Regions from separate parts of the Homo sapiens genome. Here all the other regions are linked to region 1. The links are contacts of gene promoters, found by promoter capture Hi-C in blood cells and fetal thymus (Javierre and others, 2016). All regions are on one chromosome and are shown on one strand. Each heading gives the region's core, a stretch centred on a gene start or on the middle of the fragment in contact. The rest is flanking DNA. Distances are from core to core; before and after follow the strand shown.

Evidence for each region. Contacts are between HindIII fragments. The CHiCAGO score rates a contact against its expected background, and 5 or more counts as called.
Region 2: a contact is called between a fragment that was not itself captured here and the fragment with the promoter of BBS12 in region 1, in 1 of 17 cell types (non-activated CD4 T cells). The highest score is 6.0, in non-activated CD4 T cells.
Region 3: a contact is called between the fragment with the promoter of ANKRD50 here and the fragment with the promoter of BBS12 in region 1, in 1 of 17 cell types (fetal thymus). The highest score is 6.7, in fetal thymus.
Region 4: a contact is called between a fragment that was not itself captured here and the fragment with the promoter of BBS12 in region 1, in 1 of 17 cell types (fetal thymus). The highest score is 5.7, in fetal thymus.

What each region holds. Positions count from the first base shown.
Region 1 is chr4:122,730,921-122,736,527 of GRCh38, reverse strand. It overlaps BBS12 (Bardet-Biedl syndrome 12), which reads right to left and starts at 3,824. Exons shown (of 2, transcript NM_152618.3): 1 at 3,644-3,824. It also overlaps the pseudogene CETN4P. RefSeq lists an enhancer at 3,365-3,574 and a silencer at 3,935-4,154. The HindIII fragment of the contact is 1,306 bases long and covers 3,265-4,570 here.
Region 2 is chr4:121,150,727-121,156,147 of GRCh38, reverse strand. It overlaps TNIP3 (TNFAIP3 interacting protein 3), which reads left to right. Exons shown (of 11, transcript NM_024873.6): 5 at 1,469-1,597. Among named protein-coding and RNA genes, the nearest start is that of TNIP3, 11 kb to the left of the region's middle. RefSeq lists an enhancer at 1-194. The HindIII fragment of the contact is 4,252 bases long and covers 1,939-5,421 here.
Region 3 is chr4:124,709,135-124,713,981 of GRCh38, reverse strand. It overlaps ANKRD50 (ankyrin repeat domain containing 50), which reads left to right and starts at 1,250. Exons shown (of 5, transcript NM_020337.3): 1 at 1,250-1,524; 2 at 2,708-3,982. The coding sequence starts at 3,471. RefSeq lists enhancers at 711-1,276, 1,277-1,842 and silencers at 994-1,373, 1,524-1,763. The HindIII fragment of the contact is 8,904 bases long and covers 1-3,568 here.
Region 4 is chr4:124,252,683-124,257,881 of GRCh38, reverse strand. The region is part of intron 3 of LOC105377406 (a long non-coding RNA gene); the gene reads right to left. Among named protein-coding and RNA genes, the nearest start is that of LINC02516, 300 kb to the left of the region's middle. The HindIII fragment of the contact is 431 bases long and covers 2,509-2,939 here.

The sequences.
Region 1 (5,607 bases), core at 2,575-5,074:
CAGAATAAGTTTTTTTTTTCAAAAGATTATGTCCAGTTTTGTCTAAGGTACTCAGTTTAGAGTAATAAGACATGCAATGCTTTCAGGAGCTGCATTTTGAAAAATTATAATATTTTCTTGATGGGCATGATTAGCCTTTTATTATCTAAATCAACTGTTTGCTCATCTCCAGTCTATTCCCAATACAGAAGTCTAATCATGTCACTCTACTGTTTAAAAACCTCTAACTCAGAAAATAAAGCTTTATGCCTTTGACACAGGAGTCCCTTTTAAAAATGAACTCATATCCTTTCACTCCTAGGCTCAAAATCTTGCAAGGCCTACCCATTTCACTTGGAGTCGAAGTCAAAGTCCTTACAATGCCCTAACTATTTGCAGTCCTTTCTTTACCCTTCTGACTTTATCACTTACTATTTTATCCCTTGGCCACTTTGTTCTGGCCTCTTTTTGTAATGCTTTGCATGTTCCCTATCTTAATGTTTCTGTTCTAGTTGTTCCCTCTTTCTGGAATGCTCTTCCCTAAGAAATCTATTGCTGCATCACCTTCAAATATTTTCTCAAATTTTCTGCTTTTCAATGAGGCCTACCCTGAGCACTCTATAGAATACCACAAATCCTCTTTTCCCTCTGTACTCTGGATTTGTTCCATCTGTTATACTTTCTTTTTCCCATAACACTTATTCCCTTATAAAATAGGATATAGTTTACTTATTTATTTTTTATAGACTACATCTCTCTCTTAGAATGTAATTTCCAGGAAGGCAATTTTAGTCAATGATGTATATCCCGAGTACCTACAATATTGCCTGACACACAGCAAGTACTCTATAAATATTTGGTAAGTGAATGAATTTTTTTCACCATATTTGTTCCCCCAAATTTAAGTACAAAACTGAAGCAAGAGAAAACAGACGGTACTTTTAGTATTTCTCCAACATGAATATAAGTTTTAACCATCCTTGGAGTTGACTTGATTCCTATTTGGCACCGCCTTAGTTGAGGCCCTTTAATTGCTTCTAATGAGAGTTCCTCCTTCATATGGTGGTCAGAATTAGCACTGAAAAAGCACAAACCTAAACAGATTACTCCACTGCCAAAAAACATCTATTTATCTTAAAAAAGAAAGTCTTTACTCCTTGGCTTGATATATGTGCCTTATAATCTAACCTCAACCTAATTTATGACTCTTCTCCCACCTTTCCTTATAAACCTCATGATCTTGTCACGCTAGAACATATTTATTTTCACTAAGCTATACTGATTTGAATAGTCTATATTTTCTTCATCTCCATAGATGCTATAGATCTTTCATGACCCAACGCAAATGCCTCATTTCCTATCAGGACTTCTCTAATGCCCTGGGGTAGAGTTGTCCCTCCTTTCTGTGCTCCCAACGCACTTTCTATACCCATCTACCAAAGCAGATTAAAAATACCCTGTATTAAAAACATTGTATTATGTTTGTGTCTAGCTCCCCCACTAATCTGTAGATTCCTTAGTTATTCATCTTTTATATTCTATTTTTATTTCTTTCGAACTCACCCAGTAGTTGGCATAGTGCATGACATATAGAAAACATTAAATACATTTGGGAGATTTAAGAGTGCCTATGTGTTTAATGTTTTCCTGGATAATGATGATGATTAATGTTCTAAAGTGCAGTTAGATTCGTTAATAGCTAGTTTTCAAAACTAATTACATCCTATTCAAGATCTGGGAGTTGGAATCTGAGCCTACAATTAAAAAAACATTTTAACTAGCAGTAAATATTCCAAATATAAAAGCCTAAATCATAGTGATATAAAAATAGGTTAATATACTACTCCGCCATTTAATTGTCATTAGATCAAACATGATCCAAGAGATCCTCGAAATTAGGATTGGGTTGAGTATATACTTGGTCACTATTCATTTCTGGGTCTAAGAAATCCTTTTAATATTAGTATTAAAAATGAAGTATATGGCCGGGCGCAGTTGCTCACGCCTGTAATCCCAGCACTTTGAGAGGCCGAGGCGAGCGGATCATGAAGTCAGGAGATGGAGACCATCCTGGCTAATACGGTGAAACTCCGTCTCTACTAAAAATACAAAAAAATTAGCCGGGCGCGGTGGCGGGCGCCTGTACTCCCAGCTATTCGGGAGGCTGAGGCAGAAGAACGGCGAGAACCCGGGAGGTGGAGCTTGCAGTGAGCCGGGATTGAGCCACTGCACTCCAGCCTGGGCGACAGAGCAGGACTCGGTCTCAAAAAAAAAAAAGTGTATGACCTTGAAACTGATCAAGAGCAACTTTCCAAGTGAGATAAATGACGTGAAAAATCATATATTAAAGTGACCACATTTTACTTAACTCAAAAATTATCTTGGATTTGTGCCATTTTAATTTTCACTGGGTAACTTTATATGGAAAAATCACCTGCAATATGAGGATAAACTTACCTATTTTCCAGAAGCCTAATGAGATTTTTATCAATGATTACAATACTTGCGTGTCTGTCTGGGATATAATATGAACAAGACAGGCTGATGGCTTTGGAAAATGTGCCATGTTTCTACTCAATGAAGCATGAAAAGTGATTTGACAGAGTGCTTCAAGAATGCACTTTGCACTTGTTTTCCTCTCCTGCCTTCAGGAAGATAAGTGAGACAAAAAAAAAAAAAAAAAAAAAAAGACTAAAGTTAGTATTCTTCCTGAATCCATTTTTGAAGAATCCAGTATAATTTTTAGAAAATATTTCCTCTAGAGAAGACATTGTAGGAGGCATAAAAGGGGTCCGCATGTGTGAGCAATTAAAGGTTAGAAGTTTTAAGATTCTCTCATTCCTTCATTCCCACCAGGAAGTCAGTGGTCCATCCTACCTCAGTCTTTCTCCCCTGTCCTTTAAGCTGATTCCTGGCCAAATTCAGAACGGGCAGAAGCAGTAAATCTGGCCCTCTGGACAAGAGATTGAGTTGGTTTACAAAAGTTTCACAAGTATCTAAATCTAGGCCGTTACTGAATCAACTGGATAATCAGACTACCTGTGTCTGACTCTGAAGTGCAGATCAAGTTGATATCGTTGACAACTGGCCAAATCTTAGGACTGGGCCAAGGAAATGGCTGGATGTGTGTGTGTGTGTGTGTGTGTGTGTGTGTGTGTGTGTGTGTGTGTGTTGGGGTTGGAGGGCGGGGTCCGATAGTAATTATGGGTGGGGCCAAAGTCCTACCTCGTAAACAAATGCTACACGAAACATGTAAAAACGTTTATCTATGTATGTAGTGAAGCTTTAAATACATCCCAAGACCCATGCTTATCCCAATACCCACGTCCCTCCAACGACACTGTTACCCCATGCCACTGCTATACAGAATTCTGGTGTCTACCATGCCAGAATCCCTGCCCAAAACAGGGAGGAGGTAAATGGCTGAAGGCCCAGCTCCAGGCACTGTAGAAAATGAGGAAAGTCTAGCGGCAAAAAGAAAGGGCAGTCCCCTCTTCCTCTAGTACTCCTAGCCACATGCTGGACCAATTCACCCCAGGACCTCCAGGCCCTAGATTCTCATTCTTTCCCTGGCCCGAAGAGGACAGAAAAATCAAACACACGGGCTCCCACGTCTTCAGGAAAGACTTAGCTTAGCAGTCAGCGGAAGCACCTCACTACTAACCTCGCTCCTTTCTCCTCTCCTACAGGGGGCTGGAGTTCCCGGCTTCCCACCGGCCAGACGCGATTCTGGCTGGGACAGCAACACCAAAAACGCCAGGGCTAGGGAGCCCAGTTCCCCGTCCGCAGTTTGCGCATGTGCGAAGAGGGGCTTCTGGAGGAGCCGGGGGCTTAGTTGCTAAGAGACACAGCTGGAGAGAGAAGTTCCGCTTAACGCCGGGCTGCGAAAGGCGGGGACGTCACGCTATTGGTAGGGAGTAGAGAGAAAGGGCTGGTTTAAAGGCCTTTTTTTCTGTCCATTGGATGAACTGGATGTCAATAACTCAGGCTGGGTGGGCGGGGCTGAGAGAGGTCGGTGAGAGCGGCCTTAGCAACCGCCAGTGAGCTGTGAAGACTTGGGTTGGGCGGGGCTGCGGGAGGTGACGCCGGGAGGTCCCGGCTGAGAGCGCCGGCTGCCGGCTGGGGACCTGGTGAGTGTGAAGCTGTAACCTTCTGCTGGGGCCGGGGCCGAAGTTTTTCCGCCAGAGCAAGGAAGGCTGCCCCTGGCAGCAACTGCACTCCTTCCTTACTCCTGTTGAGATTCATTTTATAGTAGGAAATAGGTACTTTAATATAGTTTATCATCAATTATTCTGGTTCTGCTAACTATTCCAGTTATATAATTTATCTTTCACCCATATGTGTGTGTATTACAGGCATCTAACTACCATACAAGTTCAGACCAATGGAAGAAAAGAGCAGCAAAAATTGAACTGAATGAATCCCAAAAGCAAGAAATTAAAGACGCCTTTAATTTATTTGATATTGATGGGTCTGGAACCATCGATGTAAAAGAAGGTTCTGAAATTATTTCTAATTCTAAATCATTTTAAAAACCATATTATTTGTGGCAATCTTTAAGGCTTTCTTTAAAAGTAGTCTTCTGAAAGCTTAATATAAAGTCTCTTCAGTGCATATGCCTGCCCTGCATTAGCAAAACGATATCTTGTTAAGCATTTTAATTGTGTTTTATAAATGAGTAGGCAAAAGCCCAGGGTGTAACAGTGATGTACATGATGGCACAGTAGGACTGAAACACAGGCCTGCTGACCTAATTTTCTGTTTATGCTCAGTCCATAATAGAAAAGAGAGAAGCTCTTAATAGGGAGTTAAAAAGCTTAGAAAGAAATCATGGCATATTATAATTCCTTTTCTTCCTATTTCAGATTGCAGTGTGGGCCTTAGGATTTGAACCAAAGAAAGAAGAAATTTAAAAAATGGTAGCTGAAGTTGATAAAGAAGGAATTGGCACCATTAGTTTTGAAGATTTTTTTTTGCCATTATGAGTATAAAAATGATATAGTTATGATTTTATTTTTCAAAGAAATACTAGCAATAACCTGCTACATTTTAGGGCTGGAGCAATCAGAAGTTTTATAGAGAAGCAATTAGAACTAGGTTTTTAAGGATGGGAGATAGGAAGAGCAAGATTAAATATGTTTTCAGGGTAGTAATGAGAAGACTATGATGTGGAGAAGAGGTTTTTGTCAGGAAATAATGAGGCTATATTGCAGGATAGAGAGAATGGGGCCAGAATTTGGAAGCCTTTAATTCAGCAACATATATTGAATGCCTATTTTTGCCAGGCACTATTCTAAGGAGCATTGAAAGATACAACCTTCCATTTTGAAGCTTACATTTTTGGTAACGGATCTGAATTATGAGGTTTAATAAGAGATGCATTCTGGACCACCCTGTGCCTTCTCCACCTTAGCAAGCTCTACCTTTAAGCACCTTGAGGGCAGGTGTGAGTACATAATTGTTAAAAGACCAATAAATAAAATCAGAACACAGCTACTTGGCACATTGCTGCTTTAGACCCCAAAGATCTAATTAAGTCCAGCTTGATAAAATAAATAAATGAAAGACTGGATAGTTGCTTCTTTTTTAAAAGAGTAAAAAAGATGAAAAAGAAGAAATATTGAAGAC
Region 2 (5,421 bases), core at 2,815-5,314, 1.6 Mb after region 1:
TATCTTGCTGAGGATGTCTTTGTCACAGTGAGTCAGGAAAACAGAGTTTAGCAACACTCCCTTTCTGCCATGTAGCAGTCATTTCCTTTTCCAATTACACTCTAGCCAGGAATCTGAGTAATTTTTCCCTCAATGCAGTTGGGACCATTATCTTATTGGAATAATTTTCTCTTAAATTATGCTAAATTAGAAAATAATTGGCTTATTTTCTAAGTGTATATGTTCATTCTATTTAAATAAAAGCAAATAGAAATATTTTCCCTTTTAAAGAAAATGAATTACCTAAAGCGGATTTCTTAAATTTAATAATCATATTGGGAAATATTAGTTACTCAAATAACACACTTTAACACATATATTAGCTATTTTTGCATGTCAAGTTACCTATTTTCTGCAATATTTATTTTACTGGGTTAAAATCTCAATCTCATTAAGAATCCAATTTACTTCACAAAATGTTTGCTATCTATTATACAAAATTAAGAGGTAGGAGATATTGTCTGAATCCAGAGCCTGTTGATGTTTACGCAGCTAACCTTCAGTTGTTTAAAACACTGCACTTCTGGATGACAATTTTAGATTGTCATCTAAAATTGGAGGAGTGGTGGCAGTTGGACTAGTTGATTTCTACCTTTTAAAAATAATAATCACAACAATAGAGTGCTCTAAATAATGATCTGTAATGAAAGGTCTTATTGGCCTAAGGATTATTCTCTTTTCCCTCTTTCTAATACAGAATGATGCAGGAATGAGCTTTGAGATATTTAGTATTGTTTTCTCACAATGAGAGTTTTTTCTTTTTAAGACTTTCAGCTATTTTTCTTAATCACTTATCCATCACCTAGTGACAGTATATAAGGACTTGCTTATCCTGCAGACCCATTTGTCTGATAATTGAAAGTAAGAATTGGGAATCCAGCACTTTGGGAGGCTGAGACGGGCAGATCACGAGGTCAGGAGTTTGAGACCAGCCTGGCCAACATAGTGAAACCCCATCTCTACTAAAAAATATAAAAAATTAGCCGGGCGTGGTGGCAGGCACCTATAATCCCAGCTACTAGGGAGGCTGAGGCAGGAGAATTGCTTGAACCTGGGAGGCGGAGGTTGCAGTGAGCTGAGATCACACCATTGCACTCCAGGCCGGGAGACAGTGTGAGAATTCGTCTTTAAAAAAAAAAAAAAGAATTGGGAATTTTGATTTTTTTTTTCCTGGGGTCACAAAATTTCTAAGATACTTCAGTAAATTCTGATAAAAGAAAGATTCCTTCAATCCTAATTCTAGTGTGCATCCAAAGAATATTGCTCAAATGGAACATTAAGTTTAAAGTCTTGCAGGTCCTGTTTTTATTGTATTTCAGAAGGGTGACCCCTCAATCTGCCTGCCATGGCTGATATATCAGAATTCCTACAATATCATCTCATTTGACTTGTACTGACTTTTATTTTCTTTTCTTGGTCTTAACTTCAGAAGGAAAAGGAACGCCTAAATGAAGAATTACATGAATTGAAAGAAGAGAATAAACTTTTAAAGGGAAAAAATACTCTTGCGAACAAGGAAAAGGAACATTACGAATGTGAAATAAAACGCCTCAATAAGGTATCAGTCAGGTCAAGCATGGGAGATTAAAATGAGAAGTCCCTGCATAAAACATTCTTACTGACAGTCGCAACAAAATCTAGGCTGCAGTGTGGGTCCCAGCCTTGGAGGCTTGCACAAGAAATTATCTGTGATTTTATAAATCACTCCTAGCTGCAGCTTTCAGTCATACTTGGCTAAGGAGGCTTTAGAGAATTTTTGTCCCTACAAAGATTCATCATGAGAAAGAGAAATGAGGAGGAATTACAGAGACAGTAAGAACATTTCTTAGTTTGAAGAACCACATAAAGCAAGTGGGTGTTTGCGAACAATAACGTATCTCTTGGTCAACCGCAAAAGCTTCCTCAGGAAACAAACTGCTCTTTAAAATGATCACTATGGAGTTGGGTGTGAAACACACTCTAAGGAAGCATGCTAAATGCAGAATCCAAGGCTGAGATGATAGCTCTCTCAAGTGCAAGCCTAAAACCTACTTTAAACCTACTTTAAAGTCAGAGAGAGGAAAAGTGTGCGTGTGTGCATGCAGGGGTGTGTGTGTGTGTGTGTGTGTTGTTTTATGGACTAGTTCATTCATGTTTTGGAGGAATGGGTCGCTAACTAGTTCAGGAAAAATAATCCTATACTGTTGACTTTTCCAAGAGCCAACCCATATGTGGAACATAGGAATGCGCTAGCACATGGTTGAGTTGAGATATGCCTCTCTCAACTAGATATTTCATGATAAAAGCAACAGAAATTGTCTTCTGAAACAAGAGTAGGTGATTGGACTTGAAACAGGTGCTCAAACCCTGTATTTTGGACCACATGCCCATGATTGTAGTTAACTGGTGTTCAGAGATGTTATTTAAAGATCCTCAAAGTATTAAGTATGTGCCTGCATAGTTGATAGGATGCTTTGCAAATGTGATCCTGTAGTAGATCTGTGTGTGGGACAAGTTATTCTTCAGGAGAAAATGGGAAAATGAGGATAAACTTCATAAACAATATACTTTATCCTCTAAGACAGAAAAACCATGCTCAGACATACAAATGCGGGGCAAAATCTATCTTTTCCCTTTTTTTCTTTTCCAGAAAATGTTGCACAAATGCATTAAAGGAACTATAAATAATTGAGATTATATTTAAAATCCTCCCATTTTTGATACCGTATTACAAGTTTTCTTACATTGTCTAGTTAATTTCCCTAAATGTAGACACAAAGATATAAACCTTGTAGATATTAGAACAGCCAAGAATGCTGTAGTTTTGCTCATGTCCATGTGCACTCTTCATGTTTGTGTATCCATATTTGTAGTTCACAGAAAATTGTTTCAAGTTAGAAAAATACAATTTTTCATCATTCCGGTGATTATATAATTTAATAATTCTACACGAAATTTTACATTTTAAAATTTTATGATTTTACAATTATAAAATCTCAATGAGAAAAAATAATTTGAGTAAAATCAGATCTTTATACAAATGTCACCTCTCAAAGATGACTTTTCTGGCTGTCCTAATTAAAATTACATACTATACTACTGGTATTTCCCGGTTTAATTTTTCCTTGGAATTTATTACTATCTAATGTATATATAATGTCTAACTTTTATGACTTTATTTGTTTTCTAGCTACTAATCTTGGTTGTTAGTTCCATGAAGGTAGGATTTTTGTGCCAACTCCTCCATTAGGCACCAGAGGCACAGTGGCCAGGCCTACAGTACTGTTAGGGACCCATAAGTATGTTTATGTTTAATTTCTCTTAAAATTAGAAGAAAAAATAAACTTTGGGGTTGAAAACACATTTTCATATATTATGTATCCATCTTTATAACAACACATTTGTAAAATATCATTTTAACATGTATTTTTAGGGAGGGAGGGACTCAGGCAATGTCATAATGTGGTTCTGAATTTTTTCTGTTTTGTTCACTGCTTTATCTTGAATACTTAGAACAGGACTTTGCTCAGAGTAAGTTCTTAAATATTTATTGAATGGGTGAATGGATGAATTTAATTAGCTAGTATATAATATGTTTGGTAGACAATTCTGGACCCAGAATTCATGCTTTAACAGGCATAATGCATTACTTATGGGTAGTGAGCAAAAAATAAAAGGATGCTTAAAGCCAGAAAAGACTTCATCCCACATCTATACTTTAAGCTGTCCCTTAAAAGTATAGATATAAAGTGATGAGTTATGACAGTAGATTTTTGTCTTATTTAAGATGGGTTTTGGTACCTAATGTAAGATATTATTGTTCTTCTATTTTACAATGAATATTTTTCTTTTCCTTCTTACCAATGTGATAAACAAAAGTTACTCAAAATGTTGATTTTGGTAGCTGATTTTGCACACCATCCATCACAGCATGGAATCCAGGGCCTACCCTCTATGTACAAGCTGAATGCTTGCTGACCCATTCACTCAGAAAAAATTTGTAATATGTCAGCCTTGTAATTAACATACTGTTTTTAGAAGTTCACACAATTATGTGTACTCTATTCAATTTATTTGCATTGAAGAAAATGGGGAAATATACCTAGGAGTTTGTTTTTATCAGGCTCCTGAAGCCAGATGTTTAACCAAAGTGAAAACAATTACCTAAGGCTACTCAGCTCGTGCCACCCGTGGGCAAAATTGATTTGTCTAACATCTCAGTAGATCTGTTTAGGATATCCATACTAATCGTAAATATTCTAGAATAGGTTATAGGTGTTTGTTCAAGGAAGTTGGGAAAGCCCAAAATGGAATAAATATCTATTAGACTCATCTTTCATTTATGACTCATTTACAAAATTTCTAGGATCCCAAATAGCATGAAAAGTAGATCAGAAAATTCAAATAACAAGATCTACAAAAGTAGTCTATTCCCAGGTGTAGGATAAGGAACCAGCATATTCCATTGCCATAATCCATTTGGCCCACCCCACCCTAGATTCTCTTTACTACTATTCACCAATTGAAAAAAAAAAATTGAACTATTCTGACACTTCCTAGAGCTTAACACAAATCCTCAAAAAACATAAATTATTAAACTACTTTTGTTGCTTCTTTAAATTCTCCCTGAAGGATGAAAAAAGCTCTTTTTTTCTCTTACAACTTCCTGAAAAAAAATGATATTCATATCAGGCTAGACAGTATTTGTGTATTCTAAGACATTCTATTAGGAAATTCCCAGCCTATTCACATACTCAAAACCACACATTTGCTTTTCTTTTCCTACCTTTATGACCATATTATATAGTAATGCAGTGGAGTAAGTTACCACTAATATCACCAAATAGACACTGTTGAAGTTACTAAAGAAATACAGAAGCAAATTATTCTTAGATCTCTGAAAATGAACCTTTTCTATTTGTACAGAGGACTCATTTGATAATGAGCAAGTAGTCATTTTATGGTCTCTGAGGCCACACCAGGATGAGAAGTGTTCTGTCACAATATTTGGAAGTAATTTTTATTGAACTTATCATGAACCAAAGGTCTTCAAAATAGAGGCAATGTCTTTCATATGATATTACCAAACATAATGTAATGATATGCCCATCATGAGCTAATGACTAAAGATGATAATCGTTCTGGTGAATACAGGTATTACTTCTTTCTTTCCTCTCCTCATGTCATGCTAAAAGCATCAACTTATACTGGATGTCAAGAAAGCAGGGCACTCTCTCCACTCGGTAGTGAGTTAATGAATGTTTTAACAGAAAATAAACAGGACTGTGGCTAGGCCAGGGCAGAAGAGCAACGCAACAGAGCTAACAGATAATGAATCTGCATGGGCTTTCATTTCTGTGGATGTCCCTCTCTCTTGTTGGAGGCATGCCATAGTTATATAGT
Region 3 (4,847 bases), core at 1-2,500, 2.0 Mb before region 1:
CCCTAATTCTGGAGAATTTATACTCTGCCTCTTTTGCTTGTGTTTTAGGAAAGAAGCCCAAAATTCAGGGTACATGAATTAAAATTAAATACTAAGATCAGTAAACCTCAATTGGCACGAATAAACAATATGAAAGAGTAAGCACAAACACGATCTATTTGTTTATCCATCTTTCTTATTGTGATAGCTATACTATGAAATTTCTAAAACTAGATGGGAGACTGGCTTAATATTTTGGCAAATAACCACATGCAAGTTAATGAGGAATGGGAAATAGAGCACTCTGGATTTTAGCATAAACAATTAAAATAAAAAATGCTACATTTCCTATTCCATCAGTTGACGGTATACTTATTTTCCCGGGAGAAATTTGGAATCTAAGCAACTCAGGTCCAGTAAGTGCAAACAACTGACATGCTTAGTCCAACAGGCCCCTGTGAGCAGGCCCTCTAGGGCATTTCCTGACGCCACATGACCAAGACCTTCCCCCCTAGTGGACGCTGCGGGTGATCAAGTGGCCCTGAGGAGCAGGGGCCTGAGACCCAGTCAAGCCTGCTGTCAACCTCCATCTGATGGAGGCCACGTCCTTTTCATGAGGCTGGTAGGAATGTCGCTGTATACCCCCACTATTTCTATTTTCGCAACATTCTTCCCAGTCTTTTCCTTCCTTCTCTTCGTCCCAGCCAAAGTAAAAGCATCCCTGGAATTTAATGGACTGAAAGGAGACCGGACGACTGAGGGGTAGAACGGGGCCCGAAGTGGCTTTGGAAGCAACGGGGTTAAGGGAGAGGCAAAAGGGTTGAGCAGAGAGAGGCAAGAGGCAATCTCCCCCTACCCAACTGCCCCTCCCAGGAGCAGATACGGCACCAACAGCCGGCGAGTCCCTCCGGCCTGGAAGACAAAGGAAGGATCAGGGCCCAGTGGTGACGGGGAGGGTGGGGGCAACGACTCGCGTGAGCTCGGAGACGTGAGAACGCAGCCCCCGCCCCGTTCTCCGCCTCCCCTGAGAAAGGCGGGGCCCCCACGCCGCCCCGAGACAGGTCTCCCCGCCGCGCCGGCAGCGGGTCCCAGGCGGCCGCACACGCCCAGGCACGGGATGCTGCGGGAGAGCGCGGTGGGGGAGGGGAAGGACGCGGAGGCGGAGCCGGCGGGCAAAGAAAGGCCGAGCGGCGGGGCGGGGGCGGGGGCGGGGGCGGGGTCTGGGCTGGGCGGGCGGGGCGGAGCCGGCCGGCCGGGGGCTGCCTGAGACAGTTACTGCCCTGACGGCGGCGGCGGCGGCGGTTGGCCGGTGGGGGCTGGGGCGAGCACGACCGATTCTGCTGGGAAAGCTGGAACTGGCAGCCGCCGGGGGCCAAGAGGAGGATCCGGAGCTGGGAGCGTGCCCCGGGCCCGGCGGAGGAGGCGGCTGCAGTTGGAGTGGAGTCTTGGGAGCGCTGCTGGCAGCGACTTCTCAGCGAAGCAAGTGTCTGAGACTGAGAGTCCCTAACAGCGGCAGCGGCGGCCACGGCGGCGGCTGGGGCCGAGGTAACCGGGGGGCGGCGGCGGCGGTGGAAGCGAGGCCCCTCCCTCGGGTTGGAAGCTGGGAGGCCGAGGCCGTGGCTTGGACCTGACCCAACCACCCACCCTCTCCGGCCTCGAGCCCCAGATTTGCCCTCTTCCCTCGCACCGCCGTCGGCCGGGTGGGAGCGGGAGCGGGGCATGGGGCGGGAGCGCAGAGGCGGAAGCCGACCGGGAGGCGACCCCTCGTCTGGGATTGGCAAGGACCTCAGTCACCCCCTCCCCCTTCAAAAGACACACCCCAATCTCGGTGCGGGGCGGGGTGCAGAGGCGCTCCCAGCCTCTGGAAGGGCAGACCTCGGTGTGGAGGCTGCACCTTCGCTCGTGGCCTCTCTGAGGTGGCTCCCCTGTGGCTCCTCTGGGCGGTTCCAACCCAAGGTGGTGCCCGGCGCTGGGAATCCCGGAGTTCCTTTTGTCTGTCAGCTGAAACTGGAGGCCGGACCTGTGGGCAGACACCCACCAGCACCGAAGCACTCTACTCTTTATCCCTTTCCTGTCTTGGAAGGAATTTCTCTCTAGCAGCCTTTTCTCCGGCCAGACTGGTAGATTTTATCCCTGACCTCCATCCTTGGCCCAGAGGAAGGAAGGATTCACATTTTACTTGTGTTTGCTTTATCATTCTTATAAGAACAGTCATCCCCCATCGTTTTTGTTTTTTTTTTTTAAACCGTTTCCCATCCAGCTGCAACCCTGGTAATCTTCCCCTAGATTTTTGCACATTATCAACAAAGAAGTGTGGCTGGAGGAGTAGACAGTCCTTGACTGACTGGACTGTGTAAGTTAATAGAGCTTCCTTAGCTGGCGCTGTTCTACCAGTCTACTGTGAATGAGCGTTTTGCCTGGAGTTAAGGGTGTTACTGTATGTGCGTAAAGTTTCTCCCCCCCTCCTTTGCTATGGTGAAGTTGCAAAAATCTTGGGTAACTTGATTAAAATGTGGCTGTTTGGGAAGCATAACAATGAGGAAGAAAAATGCAGAAGGGAGAATGTGATTATTTCAGTGGTTTTTGTCCAACTTTTTGAAAGTGCCAAAGGTGAAGTACGTGGATTTTTGAGATTACGTTAACTGGTACACTGCAACCTTTATTGTCCTTAATAAGTTTTTAACATATGATATTTTGCACTGAGGTATTTTTGTTTGTTTTATTTTAGTTACTTGTGGAAATTGTTGATTACCCGGACGTCTTAAAACCAAGAAACCTGTGAACAGGTTCATTAAGAATCTGCTGTCTTGAAAAATGCATATTATGAATGCTTTGAATTAAGAAGGTGTTAACAGTGGTTGTCATTTCTGCCACATAAGAGACTATAATCTGAAACAGTTCCTGGCAGTTGCCCAGATGCCTGAAACTGGCACGATCTAGTACTCTTGAGTGATCATCCTTCAACGAGAAATACAGAGCTACTTACATACTGTACCTCATACCGTATAAATGTAATCTCTCTGATGCCATTTAATGCAGTGGACCTCTTTTCAGAATCTAATTGTCAGATGCAGAATTAACACTTGGAATCTGGAGAAGCATTTTGTACAAATTGAAAGATTGGGTTTTTTCTTTAGTTTTCCACATGTATTGTCTCATCTCTGTTCTTGAAACATCCACAATCACATAAACTCCAGTTATAACCATGGAGTTATGTGACTCATTAAAATTTAGGAAAAGTGTTGCTGAGCTGTGGAATCAGGCGTTTCTCCCTCAGTTCAACAACTAATACATAGACTGCTGATCAAGAATAAGGAACCAAATAAAGTCATGCACGTTCTGTTGACAGAGGAACTCTGTGGCTGTTGAATTTTACTGTAACTAGTTACTCTGTCTTCAGAGTCAACTTAATATACAAGTTATGTCATAATGGATGGAAAGACCTGTGTTGATGTATCCAGACTCTAGCAAATGAAGATAAAAAACCCGTTATGACTAATCCTTGGGAAGAGAAAGTCTGCAAAATGGCTCAAACCAGTTTACTGCAAGGGAAGCAGTTTTACTGTAGGGAGTGGGTTTTCCACAAGCTTCAGCATTGCCTCCAGGAGAAAAGTAACTGCTGCAATAGTGCTGTCAATGCACCATCACTTGTAATGAATTCTGGGAATAATGCTAGTGGTGTCTCTGGAAAGGGAGCTGCCTGGGGTGTGTTGTTGGTAGGAGGGCCTGGCAGTGGCAAGACGGCCCTATGTACTGAACTCTTATGGCCAAGTTCACCTGCAAGTTTGCAGAGAGGTTTACATCGCCAAGCTTTGGCCTTTCATTTCTGCAAAGCCCAGGACTCTGATACTTTGTGTGTTGGAGGGTTTATTAGAGGTCTAGTAGCCCAGATCTGCCGCAGTGGACTACTCCAAGGATATGAGGACAAGCTAAGGGATCCAGCAGTCCAAAGCCTCTTACAGCCTGGGGAGTGCGAGAGAAACCCAGCCGAAGCATTTAAAAGGTAACAATAAAAATGTCATGGTGTTCAGATTTCTATGCTGAAATTAAATTAATTTTTAGTTGTAGTTTTTTGTTTTAACTTTGTGGGTTACTTTTACTGGTGCTGTACATTTGGCCTTAATCTGAAGTTATGAGTATACCTGTTTACTTTGAATATCAAAGGAAGTAAAATTTAGGTTTTGGTATTGCACAGCATATGGATTAAAATGGATTAAAAGTGTATCTTAATTTTACTTAATAACATAATGTTACTTACATTGCCTATAAATGGTAAGGGAAATTTGTTCTTATGGTAGAGAAGCACATTTAGCTGTCTGGAAATAGGTTACATTTTCAGAGGGTGAACTGAACTTAGAGTAATTATCAGTATAGCATCTAGTATCTTTTTATTTTTTTCCTTATAGTAGTAGTATTTTTTTAAGTAAGAAAGGTTTTCTTTAAAGGAGATTATTGGCCACTGAGAATCTGAAGAAAATTTGCTGATGAGTTTTGGGATTTATTCTCCTATTAACTAACTAATTGAAAAACTGGTATTTAGAAGTATGTGAATTTATAAAATAGCGAACATTTGGGATCATCTTACTACTTTTACTTTTAGTGAGTGGTACAAAGAAAGTGTTTTTTCCTAACTTCAGCAAAGCTTTTTTTCCATGGTAAATGGATTGGTCCAGGAAGTGAGCAAGTTGCTTTCCAGAGTGGTTTCAGATTCAAATCTGTTCAAGAAAATATAATTCCTTGAAAACATTTTTTTTTGCATATCATGCCTCTGCTCATTGTAAAAGTAGCAGGCAAATTGTTAGTTTGTGCTTCACTTCTGCTTGAATTACCCATTTTGCCATAAGCTTTTTCTCTACAATAACATTCTT
Region 4 (5,199 bases), core at 1,475-3,974, 1.5 Mb before region 1:
TCCAATATAGGTTTCAAAATATTTTGTTACAAAAATATGTTTAATACTATTTAAATTTATTGAGAACTTTTTATGCCCCTTCATATGGCCTGTCTAGGTAAATGTTCCAGATGCACTTGAAAAGCATGTGTACTCATCTCTTGTTAATTAAGTATTTTATATATCTCAACTAGTTCCAGGTGGTTGATAGTACTGTTTAAATCTCCTGTATCTTCACTGATTTTTCGTCTACATGCTCATCAGCTGCTGAGAGGAGAGTGTTGAAATCTCCAACCATAATTGTGGATCCTTCTATATGCCCTTTCATTTATGTCTAAATACATTTTTTCTTTCATGTATTTTGAAGCTCTGCTATTGGGTTCATGTCTTTTTAAGACTGTTGGTTTGTCTTGATGAACTGAACTTTTTATCATCATGAAATATATCTCTTTGTGTCAGGTACTTCTTATCCTGAAACCCACAGTGTCGGATATAATATAACTACTTCACCTTTGTATGTCTAGTGTATGTATGTCTCTTTTTTTTTTTAACCAGGCTTTTACTTTTAACCTATCTGAGTCTTTAAACAATATTTCAAATATGTTTCTTATAGATGGTGTATAGTTATATCTTGTATTTTTATAACCAGCTAAAAATTTCTGCCTTATAATTTCAGAATTAAGACCATTTATGCTTAATATAATTACTAATATGATTGGGATTAACCATACTATTTTGCTGCTGCTTTTTCACTTATCATATACATTATTTTTTTCTTTTTCTTTTTCTATTTTTCTGAGTACTTTCGGATTGAGTGTTTTTAGTTTTCTCTTTTATCTTCTCTATTGAGTCATTAGCTACGATGTTTTATTATCTTAGTGATTACTCTAGAATTTATAATATTAATCTTTAACTTGGTAGTCCATCTTCAAATTATGTTTTATTCTTTCATCTATAATGTGGAAACTTCCAACAGTATTCATAAATCATTTCTTTCCTTTATGCTAATGTTGTCATAAACCTTTATAGCTATATAATTTATAAAATCCACAATACATTACATTCATTTTTGCTTTATGGAGTCAATTGTTTTTTAACAATTTTAAAATAAAACCCTTGCTGTATTTATCATTTGGATATTTTTATTTCCTTTTGTAGATTAGAGTTTTTGTATGATATGCTTCTCCTTCAACCTTATATTACAGGCAGTTTTGTTACTTGTGGATCTGCTTGAGGCTAAGATTCAATGTTAGGCTTTATTAGGGCATATCTGGAACAGCCTTTACTCCAGAACTAATTTAGCATCAAATTGTAACCATTGGGGGCTGTCTGCTGAACACCCTGTGTATTTAACTAGCTTTTTCTACTCAACTCAATAATCACTCAGTCCTTTGAAAGCCATTGTAATTATTGCACTTAGAGTTTTCTGGTAGTTGTTCTTTCCCTGCTAGTTGTTTTTTTGCCTGGCTTCATGGTGTCTCATATGACAAAACGCTGCTTAGAATTTAGCCAAGGCTTCAAGGAGAAACTTACAGATTTTTTGAACTCTCTTTTCCATAATCACCTACTCTGTGTTACTCTCTCCTAGCAACACCCACCAATGCAACCTCCCTGAATGCCAGTCACTGTCTCCTCAACTCACTGAGAGTGACGTGCTCTGCTTGGTTTGCCCTCCACTACAATATGGTTATAGGTGCCCCCAGGGGGAAATATAAGGAAAACATGGCTCTCTTTTTTTCTTCCCCTTTTCTCAAGGATAACAGTCCTGCTCTTCATATTGTCCATTATCAAAATATGGTTGTTTCATATATTTTGTCCACCCGTATTTCAACATAGGCATTAGGAGGTGGGACCTTTGAGGGGTCATGAGTGTAGAACCTTCATGAATGGGATTAATGCCCTTATAAGAGAGACCCCAATGAGCCTCTCACCCTTTTTCTACGATATGAGGACACTACAAGAAGTGGGTACTCTGCAGCCCAGAAGATCACCCTCACCAGAACTTGACCATGCTGGCACCTGATCATGGCACTTCCACCCTCCAGAACTCTGAGAAATAAATTTCATTGTTTATGAGCCATCCAGTCTATGGTAATTTGTTATAGCAGCTGGAACTGATGAAGACAGGATTATCCAAAATATCTGTTCTATACATGGACATTTAAACTTGATAAACACAATTGTGAGCTTCTTTTTCATTGATTAAAATAATAAAGTTTTTTTATTTAAAAAGTTACGTTGATGCTAAGATGAATGGAAAGTTATAAGCTTTCATAATCAATAATGAACTAATCTGGTGCTTTCATCTAGCAATTGAGATTGTACTACATGTAGAACCTTCATATTTAAAAGTAGTTTTAACTGCTTCAATTAGTTCAGGCTACAGATATTCTGAGGCAAATAAAAAACCTTGGATATTGCATCAAGATATAGGATATCATCAGTATATGCCTTTGCTTTTTGCATGTATATAATATCTTAGGCTATTGTAGGAATATCAGGTAAAAAAACTTGGGAAAAATTAAAGCTTATAATAATCTGAAAAGACTTATCTGGATTCTTATAAACTGTTTCCCACTTTTTCTGTCTTTTGTCTGTGGAGCCTCTGAGATCAGAGCCCCTTCTTTGGTTGCTTCTTGAATTATACATAGTGTAGGTATACTGATGTCCAGATCAGCTATAATATGAAACTTCTAAAAATAACTCCTGTGCAGTAAATTTTATCTGGTAATTCTATTTGAAAAGTAGACTCCTACCTATTTATTACATTTGCAGGGTTTGTGTAAGGGAAAAAATTGTGTTGTTCTCATAATAGCAATCTCAAAGTAATAATTGTATGTTGGCAGAAAAGGATTTAGAATTGTAAAAATTTTCAGTATTTGAATGGTTTATGTAAACCAAGGCAAAGAATGTTTACTTCTCCTGAAGGGTTTTACCTGTTACTCTACACATTCAAAGCTTTCTTTTACTATCTTCTGGGCCAAGCATACATTTTTACTTTAAGCAAAACTATATTTTGTTCCATTTTATTATTACTACACCATTACTATTACGGTTGTTTATGAGCCATCCAAAGTCAATTTGCTTAATTTCATGAGTTTTAGATAATTTGAAAGTTTAGTTTTGAGGACTCTAATGTTCTGTGGTAGTTGGATTAATAAAATATTTAACACCCATATTAATGAGAAAGATGTATTAATGTCCATCTCAATTTACAGATATTTCCCCTTGGGAGTTTAGAAGAAAACAGAATTGTGGAACACTAGTCTCTCCCTTGGAGTGAAATCATAGGGCAGCGTTTGGATAGTCACCCACCACTTCTTAGCAAGTGTGGAACGTTCTTTCTTCTAACAGTACTTCTTTTGTCATTTCTACTTGTGTCTCTTCCTAGGTTCTCAATTCTAAGGATCAGAGAATCTTTTGGTTTTATTTTTGTTTTGGGAGCTGGTGGTTCTATCTAGCTGGTAGCCATAATTGATTTTAATTTTTAGCTTGTTTACTTTACCTGTGGCTCATTGAAAATGTCAGCAAATGCTGGAGTGCATCTAGCAGTTTCCTACTATAATTTTAGATGTAAACCTTGTTATTAAAAAAAAAAGAAAACAGAAAAAAAACCCTCCATTTACTTTGTTTCTTCTATCTACTTCAGAATATTATCTGAAAATGTATCATCTAATTGTAAAATCTCCTCTGATTCAGCTCTATTTTGTTTATAACTTTGGATCTTTGTCCAATTTACTTTAAGGGAGAGAATTCTGAAATGGCCTTATATATGAAATATATTTTAAATATTTTTTTTTTGCTCTTTCAAGAATATTTTTAAAATCATGCACAGCTGTGTTACTAAAATTTCTTCCTAGTGTTTTTCATCTTATTAATTCTTATTATATTTCCTTATCTGAGAGGATGACTGTTAACTTGCTGATACATAGCTGGTGGCACCTAAAGCAATTCTGATTTTTTTTTTTCAGAAAATTTCTGCCTAAATTCCTGAGGTTCAAAAGGAAAACTTAATTTATGAACTCCAAATTGGTTCTAGATCAAAGTTTATATTCAGCTTCTATAGATGAGCCTTCTGGTCTTATAATTTCAAGGGCATATTGTGCAATGCAATTGTTCTTTTTCTGAGAAAAAAATGCTGAGGAAAAGATAGCACATGTGAACAGTTAGAATAAGAAGCAAAAGGATGTAAGCATAGAGAAGAAATTCAAGGAAAGTATATTTCAGAAGATTTGAGCAGGAATGAACTAGAGAGTTTTTTAAACAAGCTATTCTGGAGTCAATGTTTGGTTTTGTGGCTTTGGATATTAATTAAAATACTGATAATTGCATATTTAATATTATTAATTTTTTCTTTTTCTGAATTTCTTAAAAATGTAATTATGAAATATTAAAATTATTCAAAATGATAAATTAAAAATTTTTTAAAACATTCACCAAAGAAGACACAACAGCTGTGAATATAATACAAATTTATGAAAGATTCACAGATTTTGCCAGGAAGATGTTGCAGTTTTGATTTGGACAAACCCATAATAAACAAAAAAGAACCTCTAAAATCTGTTACATCTGTGTTTTTATAAATGATGTTCTGCATTACCCAACCCAAGCCAAGGCCAGGAAGAGGTGGTGCAACAATGACCCAATAATCACTGGCCTGGAAATGTGAAGTAGAGTGACCTTGTACACAAATTGACATGACAGCAAGTCTCTTCATGATTTTGGAGGTGAGCCAAGACACAATTTGATCAAACATCTCAGTATAAATTACCTGTAGCATAATGGGGCTGCAACAGTGATACTTTTAGGCTGGTTTGGACTACATTGGAGGTTTATCCAACTGATACCTCCATCCATTTTCTAGGAACCACTCCCTGACTCAAGTCACCAGAAACAAGACAATCCATATAAAGCCATGACACAAATCTTTCTCACTAAGAGAAAGACAAAAATAAAAAGCAAGCCAAGTCGCTGAAGTCAGCATGTTAGTGGCAAAAATATTTAACAAATAGTGCACCACCAAACCAAAGCATCTAATATACTAATACTACTTAGCAACAAATTATAACAACATAAATTTTGTAATAAGAGCTCAATGAAATAAGTTAGAGTTGAGATCATGTTGAACCAGTTGCACCTGGCAGGAAATCTGAAGGACAAAGGAAACTGGCGTACAAAAGGGCTGGGTAGATTTATTGGTCAAAGATACTATATTACCCT